Linked DNA regions of Homo sapiens: region 1 is linked to region 2. The links are contacts of gene promoters, found by promoter capture Hi-C in human tissues and cell types (Jung and others, 2019). All regions are on one chromosome and are shown on one strand. Each heading gives the region's core, a stretch centred on a gene start or on the middle of the fragment in contact. The rest is flanking DNA. Distances are from core to core; before and after follow the strand shown. Region 1 overlaps MAPK14 (mitogen-activated protein kinase 14). Region 2 holds the start of TEAD3 (TEA domain transcription factor 3).

Evidence for each region. Contacts are between HindIII fragments. The study calls those that stand out against the background at their distance.
Region 1: a contact is called between a fragment that was not itself captured here and the fragment with the promoter of TEAD3 in region 2, in 1 of the 25 tissues and cell types used here (spleen).

What each region holds. Positions count from the first base shown.
Region 1 is chr6:36,037,658-36,040,357 of GRCh38, reverse strand. All of the region lies in intron 1 of MAPK14 (mitogen-activated protein kinase 14), which reads right to left. Among named protein-coding and RNA genes, the nearest start is that of MAPK14, 11 kb to the right of the region's middle. RefSeq lists a silencer at 1,688-1,737. The HindIII fragment of the contact is 3,983 bases long and covers 1-2,700 here.
Region 2 is chr6:35,495,629-35,498,328 of GRCh38, reverse strand. TEAD3 (TEA domain transcription factor 3) reads left to right here and starts at 1,250. Exons shown (of 13, transcript NM_003214.4): 1 at 1,250-1,431. It overlaps TULP1 (TUB like protein 1), which reads left to right. Exons shown (of 15, transcript NM_003322.6): 15 at 1-455. The coding sequence ends at 2. It overlaps LOC124901309 (a long non-coding RNA gene), which reads right to left and starts at 196. Exons shown (of 2, transcript XR_007059561.1): 1 at 122-196. RefSeq lists enhancers at 1-343, 344-1,274, 2,221-2,700 and silencers at 743-1,072, 1,083-1,212, 1,393-1,442. The HindIII fragment of the contact is 31,199 bases long and covers 1-2,700 here.

The DNA of each region.
Region 1 (2,700 bases), core at 17-2,516, 540 kb before region 2:
ATAAGTGGTTCTCAACTAAAGGTGATTTTGCCCTCCCTACCCGTCAAGAGATATGTGGCAATGTCTAGACATTTTTGGTTGTCACAACTGGGAATTGCTATTAGTATACAGTGAGTTGGAGACAGGGATGCTGCTAAACATACTACACTGCACAGGTCAGTCCCCCACAACAAAACATTATCCCACCTAAAGTGTCAATAGGTTGAATTACCCTGGGTTATACAGGTTGAGTATCCCTAATCTGAAAATCCAAAACCTAAAATGCTTCAAGATCCAAAACTACAGAGGACTTCCAAAGCCATCTATGAGGAAACATAAATATGTCTCCTCTGGACTGATACTTTCTTTTTTTTTTTTTTTTTGAGACTGAGTCTTGCTCTATCGCCCAGACAGGAGTGCAGGGGAGTGATCTCGGCTCACTGCAACCTCCGCCTCCCGGGTTCAAGTGATTCTTGTGCCTCAGCCTCCTGAATAGCTGGGATTACAGGCACACACCACCATGCCCAACTAATTTTTGTAGAGATGGGGTTTCACCATGTTGGCCAGGCTGATCTCAAACTCCTGACCTCAAGTGATCCGCCCACCTTGGCCTCCCAAAGTGCTGGGATTACAGGCGTGAGCCACTGCACCCAGCCTGGACTGATACTTTCGAAAGGAGGGACCCTTCTTTTTTTTAAAATCTCTGTAAACAAAATATCTAGTATAGTGCACTGGAAATATTAAATTAATGAACTTACGAAAACAAAGAACAAAACTGGTATGCTTTTTTTCTTCACATGCTCAGATTGTGTGGTGTCTACATTTTAAGCCATAAGTTTGAAAATGCAATCAATACACACTTTTGAGTAGAATGACAGTAAGACACACATACTCACACACACACACACCTTCCTTCATATCACAGGCACAGTGACAATATCACCAAGGCCTAAGAGAAGTAAGTTTTGAGGAAAATAAGGAATTTGTAACCACATATTCAAATAACAGGAGCCAACATGTTCAGGGTCTAATGGTACTCAGACAGCAGGTCTAGACAAAATAAACATTTGTTCTATTACCTTTTTGTTATGTTGCCATGGGAATCTATGTTTGCAGGAAAACTTATTTTCTGCAACCTGATGATAGAGCAGTAAAAGAGGGGGAGCTCTGATGAAAAGAGGAGAGGGGTTTACATCTGTAAAGGCAGGGAGGACAATAAATAATATGGGTTTTTATAGGATCACATGTCTGTAGATAATCTTTCAATCTATATGATATATTTAAGTTTAACAGAGAAGTCCTTGGGGCCTCAAAGCTAAGACATTAATGACAGATAACAATGGTCTAACCTCTACTAAAAGTATTATAATGGGGAAAAGGCAGAGGAATGTAAAGCAGAAAAAGGGTCAAATAAAATCAAATAAAACTTAAATGTTTAACTGTTGAAAGAAGGTAAAAATGACTTTTAAAACATGATCCAAAAGTAAGAAAAACCCTAAAAGCCAAAGAAGTTAAAAAACACTCAATCTGCCAGCAGACTAATCTTCCTTTTTCAGCTAAACTCAAGAGCTAATCTCTGCTCCTTCCTTTTGGCAACAAAAACCTGAAAAAGTAAAGTCAGCCCATGTTATTTAAAGAGCTGGACTGGAATACCCTAAATTTCTAGGGCCCAACAAAAATACTGGCTCTGGCACTCTGGGACTGCTGGAATGAGAGTTGTGAGCATGGGTCAGGGCTTGCACCAATTCATCTAACTCCACCGTTCTATCCTATTCACAGTAGTGGTTTAGGGTAGAATGGGTAAGGAACCGAAACGAAAAACTTGGGACCCTAGAGCACAGTAATCTGTTAAAACAAGATTTAGGTCATGTCCTTCCTCTGGTCATAACCCTCCAAGGCTTCCCCTCTCACTTAAAGGAAAAGTCACAGTCTGTACAAAGGCAAATAAGACCCTACATGATCCCTGCATATCTGCAACCCTCTCCTCACCCCACTTTTCTCCCTATATTTGGCCCCTGGTTCATTTAGCTCTAGCTGTACTGGTCTCTTAGCTATTTCCTGGAGCACAGGGCCCTTACCTCAGGGCTTTTGCACACTTGCTAATCCTCAGCCTAGAATGTTATCACATCCTCACCCATGTCCAACCAGTGTCCTATATCACCTTCTTCAGGTTTTTGCTCAATTGTTACTTTATCAATGATGCTTACCGTATTCACCTTTCTTAAAAGTGCAACAGCCATCCTAGCACTCACTCTCCTTCCCTTCTTGCATTTTCTCCACAGCACTTATCTGACACACTATATATTTTGTTTATTATCTACTTCCACTGCCATCCCCATTAGAATATAGCTTCCTTTTTTTTTTCTTTTTGGAGACAGGGTATCACTCTGTCACCCAAGCTGGAGTACAGTGGCAGGATCACAGCTCACTACAGCCTCAACTTCCCAGGCTCAAGCAATCCTCTTAGGCTCAAGCAATCCCTCCACCTCAGCCTCCCAAGTAGTTGGAACTACAGGAGTGTGCCACCAAGCATCCCTAATTTTTTATTTTTATTTTTTAGTAGAGGAGCCTCCCCATTTTTCCCAGGATGCTGGTTTCTAACTACTGGGCTCAAGGAAACCTACCTTGGCCTCCCAAAGTGCAGGAATTACAGGTGTGAGCCACTCACTGCACCTGGCCAGAATATAGCTTCTTAAGGCAGAAATTTTTGTCTCTTTTGTT
Region 2 (2,700 bases), core at 1-2,500:
GACCCCAGCAGCCCCTCAGCGCCCCCAGAGCCCGTCAGCGTGGGGGAAAGGATTCAGTGGAGGCTGGCAGGGTCCCTCCAGCAAAGCTCCCGCGGAAAACTGCTCCTGTGTCGGGGCTGACCTCTCACTGCCTCTCGGTGACCTCCGTCCTCTCCCCAGCCTGGCACAGGCCGAGGCAGGAGGAGCCCGGACGGCGGGTAGGACGGAGATGAAGAACATCTGGAGTTGGAGCCGCACATCTGGTCTCGGAGCTCGCCTGCGCCGCTGTGCCCCCCTCCTCCCCGCGCCCCAGTCACTTCCTGTCCGGGAGCAGTAGTCATTGTTGTTTTAACCTCCCCTCTCCCCGGGACCGCGCTAGGGCTCCGAGGAGCTGGGGCGGGCTAGGAGGAGGGGGTAGGTGATGGGGGACGAGGGCCAGGCACCCACATCCCCAATAAAGCCGCGTCCTTGGCCAAGCGGAGCGGTGGTTCCTCAGCGCGTGCGGAGAACGAGGCGGCAGGAGGCGTCCGAGGCGCGAGCTGGAAGTCTCAACCCCCGTCCCACTCCTGCCCAGGCCCCGGGCGCTCCCGCGTCCCCTCCCCGCGCCCGTCGCGGGTCCTACCGAAACTCGGCGGCCGCACAGCGTCGAGACGCCCCCCGTGGGGGCCCGGGGAGCCGGGGCGAAAGGGAGGGTCCCGGAGGTCGGGGAAGAGGGAGAAAGGGAGAAGAAATTCGAGAAACTAGCCACGCGGGGAGAACCAGACAAACCGGGTCCCGGCAGGGCGGGCGCAGCCGCCAGGGCGGAGCCGGGTCTGGGGCCCCGGGAGTGGGGGGCAGGCCCGCGAGCTGGAGGGTACGCTCCGCCTTGGCGGCTCGGGACTAGGGTGGAGGGGCCGGGAGCCCCGGGGCCCGTGCGCTCCGGCTCTGCCGGGCTCCTCGTGACGCGGCACCCACGGCCCCCGGCACCGACGGGAGCCCTGCCCGCGAGGCGAGGGCTCCGCCCTCGGCCCCGCCCCAGGCCGGAGCCCCAAATTCCGGCGGGTGCCCGGGAGCGGGGCGAGGCCCGGAGCGCAGGGGGAGGAAGGCAGCTCCGCACGGGCGGGCGAGGAGCGGGGCGCCCAGGCGCGCGCCAGCCGGGGTGGCCGGGTCGCGAGGCCGCGGGGTAGGCGGCCCGAGCGCGGCTGGACGGCCCCGCCCCTCCCGGCCAGCACCGCCCCCTGCGCGCCCCGCCCCCTCCTTCCCGCAGCCCCCACCCCCGCCCCGGCTCCTCAACACAAACTTTCCGTCCCGCTCGCTCCCTCCTCCGCGCTCGGCGCCTCCCGCTCCAGCCCGGCTCATTCCGCACATTCCGGCCAGCCCCCTCCCCACGACCCCCCTTCCCCGGCCCCCCTTGCGGCTCCCTCGGGCCCGGCGGAGCGGCCCGGCCGGAGCGCCCCCGCGAGCTCGGACCAGGTAAGCCGGGCGGACGCCGGGAGGAGGCCCCGCTCGGGAGAGGTGGTTTGGTTGGTCGGCTGGGCTGGCTGGGGGGGCGACACTCGAGGGGGACTGGGTCCCCGAGCTATTGTCCAGCCGGAGCTGGAGCCCCGGATCGGGGTGCCGGGAAGTTTAGAGGGAAGGGGGAAAATCTCTCCGGGAAGCCCCGCCCCCCGCCCTCCCCACCCCCCCGCGACGGGGACGAGTTGGTCCGGGAAGGTGGGGAAGCCGGGGAGACCGTGTCCCCTGTGCCGTCGCCTGTCCCGCCGTCCGTGCTTGGGGGGTCGGGGCGGGGATCCGGGGGCCGCACAGTGTGGAGGGCCTGCCTGCCACCCTGGAGCTCATATCCGGGGCGCCCAGTCCCGGGCCCCGCCGCCCTTTGGACTCCCGGCCCGCGCGCTCCCGGAGCCCGCCCGGCCTCAGCTCCACGCAGGCCTCGGGCCCGGCCTCCCAGCGCCCAGGCCGGTTTCTGCGCGCGGTGCCGCGGCTGCGCTGGGTTGTGGAGGGTGTCTGGGACCAAAGCCGCGCGCCCCGGCCGTGTGTCCCCTGAGAGGCAGGGAGGGGCTCACGTTCCCTTCAGTTCTGCCGCCTGCGTCGGGGTGCTGATTCAGAGTTCCAGCCCTGAGCGCTGTGAGCTTGGCTCGGAGGGGTCTGGATTTGGGGCCTTTTCTTCCCCACACTTGCTCAGGGCCCTTGTTTAGACTTGACAAGGTTTGAGGGTGGCTGGTCTCCCGCTTCCTACCCCGGTCCCCACCATTGTCTGTCATGCCCTTTATTCCTGCTAGGGGAGGGAGGGCTGGGAGCGCTGGTCTGGATCTGTTTTCCAGCCCAGCTGGGCCCTGGGGCAGTGTCATTGAGACCCCGCTCTGTCAACTTTCCTGGTGAGGGGCCCTGATCCAGGGCTGAGAGATTCTTTCAGTGCGAGGGGGAAGGAGGCCTTGGGGCGGACTTCTCAGGGGCTGTCTTCTTCTGTGTCTTCCCTCTTTCCAGGTAGGGGCAGAACCAGGTCAGGCCTGGACTTGTTGTCCGGAAGAACAGGGCATAGGGGTAGGGGCTGGACACAGCTCAGAGGGGCTGGTGCCCATAGCGGCTCTGCGTATCCAGTCTCTTGTGGCCTGGTTCTCTGTACACATGTTCCACCCCAGTGCTGGGGCCACCTGGGGCAAGGAGGGGAGGCTTTCCTCAAAAGTTGGAGATTTGGGGGAATTATGTCCTCTCCCTTCTAGACTCCTGTAGCCCCCCTCCCAC